2 separate regions of the Homo sapiens genome follow, and region 1 is linked to region 2. Evidence: promoter capture Hi-C in 16 types of primary human blood cells and fetal thymus (Javierre and others, 2016). All regions are on one chromosome and are shown on one strand. Each heading gives the region's core, a stretch centred on a gene start or on the middle of the fragment in contact. The rest is flanking DNA. Distances are from core to core; before and after follow the strand shown.

Evidence for each region. Contacts are between HindIII fragments. The CHiCAGO score rates a contact against its expected background, and 5 or more counts as called.
Region 1: a fragment that was not itself captured here is called in contact with the fragment with the promoter of SEPHS1 in region 2 in 1 of 17 cell types (neutrophils); the score reaches 5.3 in neutrophils.

The regions. Positions count from the first base shown.
Region 1 is chr10:13,820,007-13,824,404 of GRCh38, forward strand. All of the region lies in intron 3 of FRMD4A (FERM domain containing 4A), which reads right to left. Among named protein-coding and RNA genes, the nearest start is that of FRMD4A-AS2, 170 kb to the right of the region's middle. The HindIII fragment of the contact is 1,851 bases long and covers 453-2,303 here.
Region 2 is chr10:13,345,418-13,349,542 of GRCh38, forward strand. It overlaps SEPHS1 (selenophosphate synthetase 1), which reads right to left and starts at 2,876. Exons shown (of 9, transcript NM_012247.5): 1 at 2,583-2,876. RefSeq lists silencers at 1,812-2,641, 2,772-2,991 and enhancers at 3,061-3,851, 3,852-4,125. The HindIII fragment of the contact is 15,925 bases long and covers 1-4,125 here.

The DNA of each region.
Region 1 (4,398 bases), core at 128-2,627, 470 kb after region 2:
CTTATAAGAGAGATACAGAGGGTTTTTTAAAAACAGACATACAGGAGAGAAGACAGAGGCAGAGACCTGAGTGATGAGTGATGAAGACACAGGCGAGGAACCCCAGTCACTAGAAGCTGGAAGAGGTGGGGAAGCGATTGTCCCCTCCAGCTGCCTCCAGAAATTTGGGAGAGTGAGTTTCTGTTATTTTCCAGCCATCAGGTTTGTGGTTATTTGTTATGGCAGACACAGGAAACTCATACACCCTCAGATGGAAACCCCGAAGACCTCGTTTCCGTGTAATTGAAGGGAACTCAGCACTGGTTGGTTGTGACATGAGTGATCTCAGTGCGAAGCCTGCATTGACATTGGTGTTCTCTCTCCACTGTCCCTGTGGCACTCTGGGCTGGGAAGGCAGGCGGGCCTTGGTCTCAGCCGACCTTGGGTCACTCCATGGTGAAGCAGGCCCCTTAAGCTTCTTCTTGTTAACCTATTCCCTTGGGGCATCTCACAGATTCTAAGTCAAAAGAGTTGCCACTTCTGAGTTAATTGTATCTCAAAAAAAAAAAAAAAATTCAAACAGCAAACAAGCAGTAACCATCAGGTGACTCCCATCTGTGCTTTGGGAGGAACCACGGTCTCCTCTGAAGAGTGACACTCTCAGCTCCTGCTCTTCGCCAAGGGTGTTTTTTGACAATCCCTTTGTCACTGCAGAGCCCCCAGTGACTGCTAAGCTGCCAGGGTTTGGACACGCATGGCCGGATGGCACAGCCACAGCCGCCGCTCTGTGCCCAGCACTGCCTGCCCATCCACTCTGCCCGGGACCCCGGGACCTGCTGGATGGGTGGCTCCCTGCCCTTTAGGAGTGGGTGCAGCTGTGGGATGGCAGACAGGGGCTGTCTGGGAGTGACTGTGAAACGTGGCCCGTCTGCCCCCATCTCTCTGGACAGGAGGGGCCGGGGTTAGCTTTTCGGAAAACCCAGAGGGAAAGAGCAGGGGAAGGAGCGCAGCTTTGAATAAATGAGCCTGAGCAAGCTGCCGGGTCTGAAGCCTGGGCTGTCACTGTGTGTCCCTCTCCATCCCCATGGGGGCTCTGAGCCCAGCAATGGCTCAGCGGCTGCTCATTATTCCCGGGGAGGGGAAGCTGCTGCGGGGGGTGCATGAGGTGACTCTGTGCAGCTCTGTCCACTGTGTGGCCAGCAGGTCTGGGCGGCGACTCCCCTCCTTGTCGCCCTGCTGCTTAGCTGGGAAGGCTGGTTTCCTTCCTGCCTCTCCAGCACAGCCCTGGGTTCTGTGGCAGGGGACACAGGGAGGCTACTTCCTGTAGGCAGACGGGTGTGAAGAACAATGGAGTTGCACTGTCTTGGCTCTCAGGCACCCAGAACAGGTAGGAGAGACCCCGAAGCCAAGATCAGAGACCCGCCTGCCAGAGGTGGCATCTCTTTACCCAGAGGTCCCTGCCCAGCCTGAACCGGGATCCATTCGTGCACATGAGACAAATCCTTTACCTCTAGTCTAGGAGTGACAGTGGCATCACATCGCTGCAGCAGAACAGCAAAGCTGCCAACAACACTGCCCACCTGTCCCCGCCTGCAGCTGCTACTTCACATGAATTCATGCAGCCAGCCCTAGAAACCAGAAACACCTGAAGTAGACACCAGGATTGCCCCCATGTGATAGAGGGAACTGAGATACAGCCAGAGAAGCAACTCGCCAAATTCACACAGCGAATCAGTGGGAGAACTGAACCGCGGCACACAGGTGGGCATGGGTCACCCAGGATTATAGGAAGAGCCAGAGAGACCATCTGCCCAGCCCACTTCATGACGGCAGCAGAAAGGAAAGCCTAGAGGAGGCCAGAAACCTGTCCAGGACGAGGGTGGGCACCTTGGTTACCAGCATAGGTGAGGTGGCCCCGAAGTGCCCGCCACACCTCCATCCTTTGCCCCCGCTAATGTTACACTTAGGGGACAGAGCAGGTCTCGAAGATCCGAAGCAGGAAGGAAAGAAACAAAGTACATCAAGGAAAGGGGTAAAAGTGGTCACTGACAGAAATGGAAACGATATATATATATATACATACACACACACATATGTACACACATAGATCTATATGTATGTATCTATTTGTGATGTACAACATGATGTTTTCATGTATATGCACATGTGGGCTGACCCATCAAGCTAATAAACATATCCATCACCTATCATACTTACGATTTTTGTAGCGAGAACATTTCCAAACTACTCTCAGCAATTTTCAAGCATTGAAGACATCGTTATTAGCTACAATAACCACGATGTACAATAGATCTCCTAAACAAAGCTTTGCTTGCTTTTAAATTCTGGGGTTCAGATCTAGCAAATAACAGCCTCTCCTGAAGTCAAAAGCCAAGCCACCTTTTCTAAATGCAATAGAATTTTGCCAGACAGTAAGTTCCTGGAAGGGAGGGATCACATTTGATCGACATTTGTGGACTTACACCCCAATACAGTCCCTGACACACAGTAGGTGCCTAATGAAAGTTTCCTATTGGTAGAATGGGACAGAATAAAGGGTGGCATATGCAGTTGTTCTACCACGAGACAGGATGGAACCTGGACACCCTCTTGAGCTGGTTTGAAGGAGAGATCTGCTAGGCAGAGACTGCGGTGCTGCACAGAGCCAGATGGGACCAGGTGTCGCATGCTCACTGATGCCAGAGAGCCACTGGGTTTCAATCAGATCACACAGCTCCAGGCAGCCATGAAGGGGCCTGTGACAGATACTTGTGTCCCCAGGAAAGGATATGTCATGTCCCTATTCCCAAACCCTATATCTGTGCCCTCTTCTTCCTCACCCAACTCCTCCCCAAACCAACAAAGTCACAGCTCCCTTTAATAGCTCCTTCTCTCTCCCCTCCTTCTCTCTCTCCTTCCAAGTGACTCTGCCATTTAACCCAGGGGTGAGGTCTCCCTGGGAGCAATGCTTTTAGTCTCCCCATTTGTCCCTCTCCTTCCCCTTTATGCTTTTATTCCCTGGGTGTCATCTTCTTATTTCCACATAGTTTCTTCCATATTTTCCTAAGATGCAGTCTGGTCCCTGTGTTCTCTGAAAAGTTGGGACTGATACCCATGTGGGAGGGAGGCTTTCTCATCCATGCATTTGAATGATGCCCAATGGGAAGGCTTTGACAGGCGTACATAATGATTGCTCCTCTAGAAATGCAAAGTGCTCACAAGCCAGCCAGCCGGCTGGGGAGCCTGCTCTATTCATGATCCCCGGGGGACTCTGGGAGGCGGGCAGGTGTTCATTAGGGAGGCCTCCTGATGAATAGAGCAACCCCCAGACTCCAGCCTGCTCAGGGCAATGTCACCAGGACTGTGAGTCTAGCGTGGCTCCCCTTGGCAAGCCTCTCTGCATTAATGAAATGATAACTGTTTCGGTAAGGAGAAAACAGAAAAAGACAGGCAGTGCTCAACCTGCCTCTGCCAGATAGGACTGCCAAGTCTGCAGCCCAAATTCTGAGATATTTATAGAAAATATGGGGATGATAAACGAAGCAACATCTTGGGATTCCAAGCTCCATCTTCCATGGCCATCTGGTCTGCCACTTCCATTTTTTTGTTGTTGTTGTTAAAAGAAAGCCTGCCCTGCAGACTCTGTGATGACCCCATCTTGTCCTGCAGTGAGTAATAAATCACTATTTCTGATAAAAGCTGCCCGTGCACTCACTGGGAGGTGAGGTATGTTCTATAAGATCAAATGACACATTGGCAGATTGGTACCTTTCCACGGGGCCAAATGACACCAGGACCAACTCAAACTAGATATCTTCATGACACTGCACACTGAATTATTCCATTTGCTCGATGTTCAAGGAAGAGCAGAGAAGAGTGTCTGTCAACCAAGAACACAGGGACCAGCCACTTGCTACTTTTCCAGTGTAACGGACGGAAGGTGTGGCTCGTATGACATCTGCTATCCTCAGCTGTGGCTGGCATTCGAAGACTGTGTCTCTATTGCCATCAGACTGGAAAGGGAAAGCTTGCCTTTTAGCAGGATGGTGGTGAGAGCCAAGTTCAGAGGGGGTTAAAAAATAATAATATATCACTTCCAAGATTAAGTTACAGAAAAAATATTAGTACAGTCAACCCTGCATATCCACAGGTTCTGCATCTGTATATTCAACCAACCATGGATCAAAAATACTTAAAAACAAAAAAACCAGGCTGGGTGCGGTGTCTCCCGCCTGTAATCCCAGCACTAAGGGAGACCAAGGAGGGTGAATCATGAGGTCAGGAGTTCAAGACCAGCCTGGCCAACATGGTGAAACCCTATCTGTACTAAAAATACAAAAAAAAAAAAAAAAAAAAAATTAGCTGAGCATGGTGGCACGTGCCTATGATCCCAGCTACTCAGGAGGCTGAGGCAGAATT
Region 2 (4,125 bases), core at 1,626-4,125:
GTGACTTTTCCGCAAAATCTTTTGATATCTTTTGCTTTATCACACAGAAGAATGAAACGCCCGATACAAACTTGTCAGAAAAGGGCATTAATGTAAATGCATTGGACAAAATTCTTCACGATGCTAAATCCTTATTTTAGAAAAACACGTTTTCCCTCTGAGCCCAAAGAATATACAACACAAGGATGGGCGTGGTGGCTCATGCCTACAATCTCGGCACTTTGGGAGGCCAACGCGGGTGGATCACCTGAAGTCAGGACACAAGCCTGGCCAACATGGCGAAACCCCGTCTCTACTAAAAATACAAAAATTAGCTGGGCGTGGTGGTGCGCACCTGTAATCCCAGCTACTTGGGAGGCTGAGGCAAGAGAATCGCTTGAACCTGGGAGGCGGAGGTTGCAGTGAGCCGAGATCGAGCCACTGCACTCCAGCCTGGGCGAGAGTGAGACTCCGTCTCAAATAAAAAATAAAAAAATACACAATGCAATCCAAAACTAATAGGAGTCCTCTCTAAAGGGCACAACTTAAAAACTACAGTGGCAGTTTAACACAGTAAGGTCTGTGTTCTTCAGGCGAAAGCCTGGAAAGTTCTCTGATGTTTTCACGCAGTGCTATTTCCTAGAAAGCAAAACATCCAGCCCAACAAACTAGTACACACATCATTGACAAAATATGCTACTCCTCATTAACATTTCATTGCAGAACCGAAACAATAAATTAAGCCATACTAAATCAGCAGCATTTCGGCCCTGTGTACCACCGTTAGGTTTCTGGAACAAGCACTCCTACGTTTTTTAGCCTTTGGGGCTAAAGGAAAAAACAACATGTGTTCCTCGAGTTTACAAACCTCCAGACTGATACTTTATTGGGACTAGAATTACAAACACCCCAAGTTTTAAGGTCGGTTTCCCCTATAAAATTTATGATTAAGAACATAATTCCCATTTATAGAGTTTTCCATCCCTTGGGACGCACATCGCTCATATAAATCTCACGAAGCCCGAGTTTGGGCAGTAATCCAAACCGTCTTCACAAAAACACGGTTTGGGATGAGCAATGATTTCGGTGGGAAACGTAACAACTGAGCAGGAGTCAGCCTTCGAACACGATTCCAAGAAGTCTCCCTGCCCAAAAAGAGCAGGCGCTGGCCGCAAGTGACAAGAGACGAGAATTTTGAAGCCATCTTAGAGTTATGGGAAAGTTTGAATACCACTTTGACTTGGAAGGCGTTTTCAACAAAAACAACAAAGTCCTTTCCTCAAAAAACACCTCGCATTTAACACAGCCTCACCCCTACCAGGAAAAAAAAAAGAAAAAGAAAAAATCCAACTCACGAGGCATCCAGTTATTTTCCTACCTCCTATCTATTCCTCTCCTGGCTCCCAAAAAGGTGGGGAGGGGAATTGTGTGGCTATCACTTCCTTTTAAATTACTATCTTCTCAAGAGTTTTAAGGGTGGAAAAAAGTTTAAAACACCTTGTATCAGGAAGGCGCTCAGATTTAAAATTCCAAATGGTACTAAGGACACAAATCAGCCTCACATCCTAATGAAAAAAGTACTAGATTCTTACATTTTTGGAGGGCATGGGAAGGGGGAGGGGGTTCTGGGGGAAATGTGCAGTGATTAGGGAACCAGGGGGATCCATTTGCATTAATAAGGGACGGTGCCCGGCGACCCCGCAGCCACATGTTTACGCCTTTAAAACAATGGCATGAATATTTAAAGCAACGTTTAGCCCTTTCCTTCCCGGGCACATTTCCATGGTTTGGTTTTTTTTTTTCTTCCAACGAGCGTGGGGAGCCGGGGAGCCGGTCAGCGGGGTGGGCCCGGCGCGCTGCCCCGCCAACCCCGGACCTACCTCCCCGCCGGCCCCGCACAATGGGGCGCGCTCTCCAGGACGCCCGCGTCGGAGGCGGCCGGGGAGGGGAGCAAGGAACCCGGGGACACCTTCGGGCTCAGGCTCAGGCTCAGGCCCTCGCCGCCGCCTCGGAAGGCCCAGCAGGCCCGGGCTGCGGGCCGGCGGCGGGGCGGAGGCGGCAGCTCGGGGCCCCGGCCGGGCCATCCCTGTTCGGGCCGGCGGGAGGCGGCGGGAGCCGGCGGGCACCGCGCGTGCGGCCCAGGAGCCGGGGAGGACGCCGGGACGCACCCGCCCCGGGTCGACAGGGCCCGCGCGGAGAAAAGGGGAGGCGGGGAGGCCCCGGAGGCACCCCGCGACCCCAGGCCGGCCGCTCCCGCCGCGCGCACGGGCCGCCGCCGCCGCCGCGCAAAAATGTCGGCGGGCGAAAAAATTAACCCCTGCGTGGCCGCCGCCGCCCTCCCCTCCGCTCCTCCCCGCCCTCCCTCCCTCCTTCCCCGGCCCCGCGCGGCGGCGGCGGCGGCGCGGGCGGCGCTTCTTTTTTAAAGCGGCCCCACCAAGCCCGGCGCTGCCCCTCTCCAGGCAGGGCTGGCGGGGCCGGCGGCGCGCGGCTCCCCGGCGGTCCCGGGCGGCCCGGAGGGGGATTTGCAACGGCCGCCGCGGGCCTGCGGACCCAGATTCCCCTTTAAGCCTGCGCCTCCCCCCCGCGCCGGGCCCGCCGCTTACCGGCTCGCTTTGCGCCCTCCGCCTCCTCCCGAAAACGGGCCGCGGGCCGCTCCCACAATGCACCGGGCGCGGCCGGGCTCCCTTAAGCGTCGCCTGAATAAAAATGCCGCGCCCGGCGGCGGCGGCGGCGGCGGGGGCCCGGGCCCGCGCCTGGGCGCCGCGGGGGCTCGCCTGCCTCGGCGCGGCCCTGCGGGAGCCGGGCCGCCGCGCTCCCGCCGGCTGGGCGCGCGGGGGTCCTTTAAGGCCGGCCACCTCCCTTTAAGAGGCGGCCCTGGCTGCTGGGTGGCGGCGTGCGGCCCGGGAAGGGGGCGGGGGCGCCGTGCAGCCCCGAGCGCGGCAATGATTGGTCTCGGGGGAGGGGTGGGGGGTTGCAAACCCGAGGAGCGGTGGCATCCGTTGCATGATGCAAAAAAGGATTGATTTCAAAAGTTGCGAGTTGCATTGGCAGCCGCCCTTGGCGCCCGGGCCACCTTTTTCCCGGGCCCCGCTGCAAGGGCCGGGAACGTTTCCGCCACCTGGCCGGGCTCGACCGCGCGGCGCTCTGCGGGGCGCTGTCCCCGCTCCCCGAGTGCGCAGCGGAGCGTCCTGGAAGACAATGACCATGGGAACAATTTGCACAGGAGGCTAGGAGCCCAGGAAAAGCCGCCTGGGCGCCAGGCAGAGGTTTTTTGAAAACACAAACGGCGCGTTAGATGCTTGGGGACTCCCAGCATCTGTCCTTCCTATTGTTTAGCTCGGCTCCGGAGTTCACGGGAGCCTCGTGAAATGTGGAGACGTCCTGCAAAGTTTCTTGAACACTTCATGTGCGTGGTAGGAAGTCGAGGAAAAAGGTTTACGGTTCCCCGCTGGTTGCATTGTTTGTCCTGCACATGTTCGAGCGAACATGGCAGCCGCAACCCTGGATGTGTTCGAATTGACATCGAGGGGGGAGCTTCACGTCGTGAAATAACTTTTTTCTGGGCTTTCGAGATTCTAAAGCATTGCTGATGAAAATAAACCAAATACTTTCAGATATCGTTTAGGGCTTCTCTCTAAAACAGCAGTGTGCAGGAATGCCGATCGAACTTTTCTAGGCAGTAGGTCAGCATTTTCCAAATGTTATTTGGGAGCAGAAATGTTTTGGGTCACTGGACCGTGCTTTACGTGGCACGGCAGGTTGGCACGCTACGCAGATGCCCTTTTCGTTAACATTTCCGCTTGCCAGTTGCTCCGGGTTTTAATCCTGGGCTGGATGCAGAAGTGATGCCACCTCGAAGACAGGCTGCTCCTGTCTTTGTGTACTTTCTTCATACCCTGTAGTAAGTTTGCAAAGAACGTGTTAGTCTGCATTCTTTTATTTTATATTTATTTATTTATTTATTTTGAGACGGAGTCCCACTCTGTCGCCAGGCTGGAGTGCAGTGGCGCGATCTCGGCTCACTGCAACCTCCGCCTCCTGGGTTCAGGTGATTCTCCTGCCTCAGCCTCCCCAGTAGCTGGGATTACAGGCGCCTGCCACTGGAGGATGGCTTCTCCCAGAGGGGAAGACAGGGTCACGGTTCTC